2 separate regions of the Homo sapiens genome follow, and region 2 is linked to region 1. Evidence: promoter capture Hi-C in 16 types of primary human blood cells and fetal thymus (Javierre and others, 2016). All regions are on one chromosome and are shown on one strand. Each heading gives the region's core, a stretch centred on a gene start or on the middle of the fragment in contact. The rest is flanking DNA. Distances are from core to core; before and after follow the strand shown.

The links. The method cuts DNA at HindIII sites, captures the fragments that hold promoters and counts their contacts. A CHiCAGO score of 5 or more calls a contact.
Region 2: a contact is called between a fragment that was not itself captured here and the fragment with the promoter of ARL11 in region 1, in 2 of 17 cell types (non-activated CD4 T cells and naive CD8 T cells). The highest score is 6.0, in non-activated CD4 T cells.

What each region holds. Positions count from the first base shown.
Region 1 is chr13:49,626,685-49,629,901 of GRCh38, forward strand. ARL11 (ARF like GTPase 11) reads left to right here and starts at 1,823. Exons shown (of 2, transcript NM_138450.6): 1 at 1,823-1,931. RefSeq lists an enhancer at 2,075-2,124. The HindIII fragment of the contact is 16,861 bases long and covers 1-3,217 here.
Region 2 is chr13:49,283,407-49,286,880 of GRCh38, forward strand. CDADC1 (cytidine and dCMP deaminase domain containing 1) reads left to right here. Exons shown (of 10, transcript NM_030911.4): 9 at 2,816-2,876. Among named protein-coding and RNA genes, the nearest start is that of CDADC1, 37 kb to the left of the region's middle. The HindIII fragment of the contact is 3,185 bases long and covers 1-3,184 here.

The DNA.
Region 1 (3,217 bases), core at 573-3,072:
AGATTACTGGTTATAAGAGCTAAATCACTGTGACTCCATATCCAAATTCAATACCTACTGAATCAGTGGTTTCTGACTAGTCAATTTTTTTTCTTTTTTTCTTTTTTTTTTTGAGACAGAGTCTCGGCTGGGTGCAGTGGCTCACACCTGTAATCCCAGCTCTTTGGGAGGCCGAGGCGGGCAGATCACTCGAGATTAGAAGCTGGAGACCAGCCTGGCCAACATGGCAAAACCCTGTCTCTACTGAAAATAAAAAAATTATCCAGGCATGGTAGCACGTGCCTGTAATCCCAGGTACTCGGGAGGCTGAGGTGGGAGAATTGCTTGAACCTAGGAGGCGGAGGTTGCAGTGAGCCGAGATTGTGCCATTGCACTCCAGCCTGGGCGCCAGAGCGAGACTCCATCTCAATTAAAAAAAAAAAATAGGAGAGAGACAGAGTCTCACTCTGTCTTCTAGGCTGGAGTGCAGTGCTGTGATCTCAGCTCACTGCAGCCTCCACCTCCTGGGCTCATGCAGTTCTTGGGCCTCAATCTCCCAAGTACCTGGAACTACAGGCACACATCACCATGCCTGGTTAATTTATTATTTTTTGTAGAGACGTGGTTTCACCATATTGGCCAGGCTGGTCTTGAACTCCTGAGCTTGAGCGATCCTCCTGCCTTGGCCTCCCAAAGTGCTGGGATTACAGGCATGAGCCCCCATGCCCGGCGACTAGCCAATTTTTTAAAAATTACATTTTCTAGAGGTGTCATTTTTACTGGGAAAAACACAGTGACACCATTCAAGAAAAAATTGAACGGTAACTTTAATCACTACATTAACACAATTTTAAAGGTTGATCTGCATCATACATACCTTTTAAAGAATGTTTTCATCATATGTAGACAGCTTTTTTTGTTTTTTGTTTTTGTTTTTGTTTTGAGGCAGAGTCTCGCTCTGTCACCAAGGCTGGAGTGCAGTGGTGTGATCTGGGCTCACTGCAACCTCCGCCTCCCGGGTTCATGCCATTCTCCTGCCTCAGCCTCCCAAATAGCTGGGCCTACAGGTAGGTGCCACCACGCCCAGCTAATTTTTGTATTTTTAGTAGAGACGGGGTTTCACCATGTTAGCCAGGCTGGTCTCGAACTCCTGACCTCGTGATCCACCCACCTCAGCCCCCCAAAATGTTGGGATTACAGGCCTGAGCCACCACGCCTGGCCATAGGCAGCTTTTAAAAGAACACATGTGCAGCCTGGCCATCATGGTGAAACCTGTCTTTATGAAAAATACAAAAATCAGCTGGGCATGGTGGCACCTGCCTATAATCCCACTTGCTTAGGAGGTTGAGGAGGGAGGATCGCTTGAGCCCTGGAGGCGGAGGCTGCTGTCCAGCCTGGGCGACAGAGCAAGACTCGGTCTCAAATAGAAAACAAAACAAAACAACAACAACAACAACAACAAACCATGTGTGATTCCAAGCAAATCAGAGAATCTCTAGCCACCAGAAAAACCTTGAGGCATGTACTGAAAGGAAGAGGTCAGAATTCTCTGCGAGGAGCTCAGAGGATCCTGAGGGAAGAGAGAAGGCGGCTGCGCTTGGACACAGCTCCGAGCTCGTGCTCCCTCCTTCAGGCACCCAAGTCTGAGTTGCTAAAAAATGGAGCTGTCACTGGGCCTTGCTCTGCCAGGACCTGCAGAGCCGGGGACCTCTCTGTGGCAAGCCCAGCAAGATGACTGCTCTGAGGCGCCCTAGGGCTGAGGGAGGGGCCGTGACACCAGCCCCGCCCCCCAGCCACCTGGGAAAAGGAAGCACAAAAAGGAGAAGCAGCAACGGCTGCTCTGCTTCCTTCCCATCTCGCTCTTGGGTCATGCCTGGCCAGCAGAAAGCAGCTCCATAGGGGAGGAGAGCCACGCAGGATCTCACAGCTGCAGTCTAATAGTAACACAGAGGTAATTTTAACTTTTTACTTTTCTACCCTTGGGAGTAGGGATGAGTAGAGGCTTACCTCCTTCCAGAGGCAGCTCATATCCCCCCACCCCCATTCCCGGAAGTTGAGATGTCTCTTCTCTGTTCCACGCAGGCATCGTCTAAGTTGGGAACAGGTCTTATGTCTTAAAATTTGGGATTCTTTAAAAACATATGTGGCTGGGCACAGTGGCTCACGCCTGTAATCCCAGCACTTTGGGAGGCCGGGCAGGTGGATAATTTGAGGTCAGGAGTTCAATACCAGCCAGGCCAACATGGTGAAACCTCGTCTCTAATATAAATACAAAAAGTAGCTGGGTGGTAGTAGTAGCTGTAATCCCAGGTACTCGGGAGGCTGAGGCAGGAGAATCCCTTGAACCTAGGAGGCGGAGGTTGCAGGGAGGCAGAGGTTGTGATGAGCCAAGATTGCACCACTGCACTCCAGTCTGGGTGACACAGTGAGACCCTGTCTCAAAACAACAACAAAAATGTGTGATGGCACATGCCCATAGTCCCAGCTACTGGGGAGGCTGAGGTGGGAGGATGGCTTGAGCCTGGGAAGTCGAGGCTGCAGTGAGCTGTGATCATGCCACTGCAGTCCAGCCTGGGCGACAGAGTGAGACCCTGTCTCAAAACAAAACAAAACAAAACAAAACAAAAAAACCCAAAAACAAACAAAAAAGCACATGTGGAGTGTTGTAGAAGTCATTGACCTTGGTAAGACAGTGGAGGAAACTGCTTTGCTCTGACTCATAAATTTGCCCCCAGTAAACAGTATTTATAAATAGCCCCAGTCAGGCACTGCATGAAGACATTTCAGTCAACGACAGACCACATATACAACGGTGGTCCCATAAGATTATAACAGAGCTGAAAAATTCCTATTTTTCAGCTTAGTGTTGTGGTGCAACCACTACCTTTTCTATGTTTAGATACACGAATACTTAGCACTGTGTTACAATAGCCTACAGTACCCATTACAGGAATGCTGTACCGGTGTGTAGCCCAGGAGCAATGGGCCATACCATATAGCCTAGGTGTGGAGTAGACTAGACCATCCACGTTTGTGTAATTACAATCTATGATTTTGTAAAATGATGAAATTGCCTAATGAAGCATTTCTCAGAATGTGTCCCCGTCATTAAGTGACACCTCACTGTGTTTCCAAGACATAGTACTGGTCCTTGGGAAGCTCTAAAGAGAGGTCACCGTGAGCTGAACCATCCTTCTCACTCTGTGCATGGAACCCAGCTTAGCTTCCATTTCAGCA
Region 2 (3,474 bases), core at 342-2,841, 340 kb before region 1:
GCTTATATCCAACTAGTCAGAGAAATCTCTACTTCCGTGTTTTTGTTTTCTGTCTCTTCATTCCTCCTGAAGAGTGTGAATAAATAGGTTTTTCAAGTTCTCCTCATAAAGATTAAGTGACTTAATCATAAAGATTAAGGACTATGAGTGATGGGTTATGGAGAATTCTGAAATATCTTGCTTACTGGTAGATTTTAATAGCTTTTCAATTGTAAAGAGAATGAAGAGATCAGAAGAACTTAAGAAAGGGCAAGAGAAGCAGAAGGAGGCAGGAAGACTAAGGGGATCTTCAGGGGCAGAGATGGGAAAGGAAGCACCCAGTTGGGCCAGACCCTCCCGGAAATACCCTCACTCAGGCACATGTTCCAAAGGCTGTTGTTCATGGTTGTTCTCTGTTCTACCTCCAGTGAAGATGAGCTGTCCATCTTCTCATCCTTCTCATCTGGCCTGGCTGCAAATATTATGTAGATGGTTAGCTAGATACCTAGTTTTGTAAATGCAAGTAATTAACATGAACTAGAATTTGTTCTAAATCTGAATTTCAGTACCAAGATTATCAAAAATAGTGTGTGTCAATAAATTTGGTATTTGTTTTTAAGATTAAAGCAAATTGAAATTACTTTGAAAGATTTTTTGCTTTCCTTTTTGATAAGTTACCATAGACCTTGAGATAAGTAGTTCTATTCTGTGGTGTTGTCACAAACCAGGCTAGGACTGGGCAACACTGTTTCCAAGAATAGATTTTATCAATCTATATCCATGTCCACATACTCAGTTCTTTGTTTTCTCTTTAATATGTGTGGATTTTTCTCTATTAGGTTATATTACTTATTTTTATTATGAAAGTAGTATATGCTCATTGTAGAAGACTAGGAAAATAAAAAAGAACGTGTATTATCTCACAACTCATAGATACCACAATTAACATGTTGCTGTATTTTCTGCCACTAAAAGTTCTTTAAAAAATATTTTAAATAATTTAACACAATATTCCAACCCATAGGCCTAACTTATTTAACCATTCCCATGTTGTTGGACACCTGGATTGTTTCTAAGTTTTTACAGTTATAAGAAGCCTTTTTATGAATGTCCTTAAACATAAATTCAGGATTACTTGTTTTTACTTTGTCTGCCCAAATTAATAGGTTTTAGTGGTTTGACGTCTTTCAAAAAATGCCTAATTTTAAACATTTTTTTGGTAATTTCTCATGTAGCTTCCTACCCTTTCTAAGTCTTCTCTCTTTCTTGGTGCTAGCCTAAACCATCCCATTCGTTTAAATAACCAACCATTTCTAGATGTCCTCCCTTTCCAGGGACTTTTAATACATGGTAAAATGTTTGTCCTGTATCTCATCCCCCCTCAAGGCTCGTGATGTTAACTAGTTAATCTGATGAGTGAACTGATGCTTATGGAAGAGGCTCCCGGGTAATCCATATTTGTGTCCTGAGATGGTGCCCTAGCAGGGCCTTTTGGTTAAGTCATTAGTGATTCTGATAGAGATTCTATCCAGCTGAGAAAAGAAGGGCTGTGCTATAAGATACCGATTACTCTCCATTTTTATTTTCTCCTGCCCCAATATTCTATGTAATATCTGTGAATCTTCAGGCTTCCCTATTTATTCCTGAATGGTTGAGATGAAATACAGTAATCAGAGGAGATATATGATATGATATAAAATGATATGATGCAGGTAATAGTTTATGATATAACAACATTAAAAGGCAAGGTAATCTTGGTCATATTTTCTTTTTCTTTTCTTTTTTTTTTCTTTTTTCTTTTTTTTTTTTGTGAGACAGAGTCTTGCTCTGTCTTCCAGGCTGGAGTGCAGTGGTGCAATCTCGGCTCACTGCAAGCTCCACCTCCCGGGTTCTCGCCATTCTCCTGCCTCAGCCTCTCGAGTAGCTGGGACTACAGGCACCGGCCACCACGCCCAGCTAATTTTTTGTATTTTTAGTAGAGACGGGGTTTCACCTTGTTAGCCAGGATGGTCTCTATCTGACCTCGTGATCCACCCACCTCAGCCTCCCAAAGTGCTGGGATTACAGGCGTGAGCCACTGTGCATGGCCTATCTTGGTCATATTTTCATTCTTTAATACCTAGGCCTTTTCTAGCTATTATAAGATTCTCTAGGACCTGGAGATAGAATACAATGCGATGTTAATTCCATAGTACTGGGCATGGGTTCTAATTCTATTGCCTCCTGTAGTTAGGGTGTAACCTGAGACAAGTCACTCCAATCCTCTGGTCTTCCACTTACTTCCAATTAAAATGAATGTAAAGAATCTTCAACTTCTCTAAGAGTATTGATTCGGATCCCAGAAGTTATATCATTCAGGATCACTCAGTGTGGCGTTATTAGGGCTTTGTTAATTTGAACATGCTAACTTCTTTTTCTTCTATTTTTTTAATTTTTTTTTTTTTTCAAGATGGAGGCTTGCTCTGTCACCCAGGCTGAAGTGCAGTGGCACCATCTCAGCTCACTGCAACCTCCACCTCCCAGGTTCAAGCAATTCTCTTACCTCAGCCTCCCAAGTAGCTAGGACTACAGGCGCGTGCCACCACGCCCAGCTAATTTTTGTATTTTTATTAAAGACGGAGTTTCACCATGTTGGCCAGGTTGGTCTCAAACTCCTTAACTCAGGTAATCCACCTACCTTGGCCTCCCAAAGTGCTGGGATTACAGGTGTGACCCACTATGCCCAGCCATTTTTCTTCCATTTTTAAGAAGTTGTTTTGATATTTAAAATCAATGTGCTGGAATGCTATGTATTAAATCCTCTTTAAACAAGTAAAATGTTTGTGCACTCTTACAGTGGCAGCTGAATCCATCAGGAGCTTATGGTCTTGAACAAAATGAGCCTGAAAGGAGAGAAAGTAAGTATTTATGTATTGAGGTGAACTTTGTTGCTGAGGAGAAAGGATATACAGTGAATTTTAATGATCAGGTGATGAAAATTGTGTTAATAGATGGAGCATATTATTTTTGAAGGTTAGATTTTTGCCATTCAATTTGTTCATAAATATTTGTGGGTCTACCATATGCTAGGTGCTATGGAAAGTGCCGATTAATAATTACTCCTATAGAATCTACAGGTTAATACAAATAATTATGCACAAATTGACTTTATAAATTAAATGCATATGAAACAGTAAACAGCAATGCTCTTCTATAACAAAACAAAAGCTTATTGGGGAGTGAGAAAGGAAAAATATGTATAATTAGTACAGATGGATTGGGACCAAATGATGAGGATATATACATTCTTCTAGAGTAAACCCACATTTGCCCAGATTGGAAATGTTCTGGTAACTTGAATAATCTGATTAACTAAGAATCATCACAGCTACCATAATGAATTACTAGTCTTTAAAGCTTTATTATTCGTATACTACTACAGATATTTTGAATGTAATATAATCTTTGAGAAGTCTTACAATTCTTTAGGCACATAATTTTAGATATGAGTGCTAT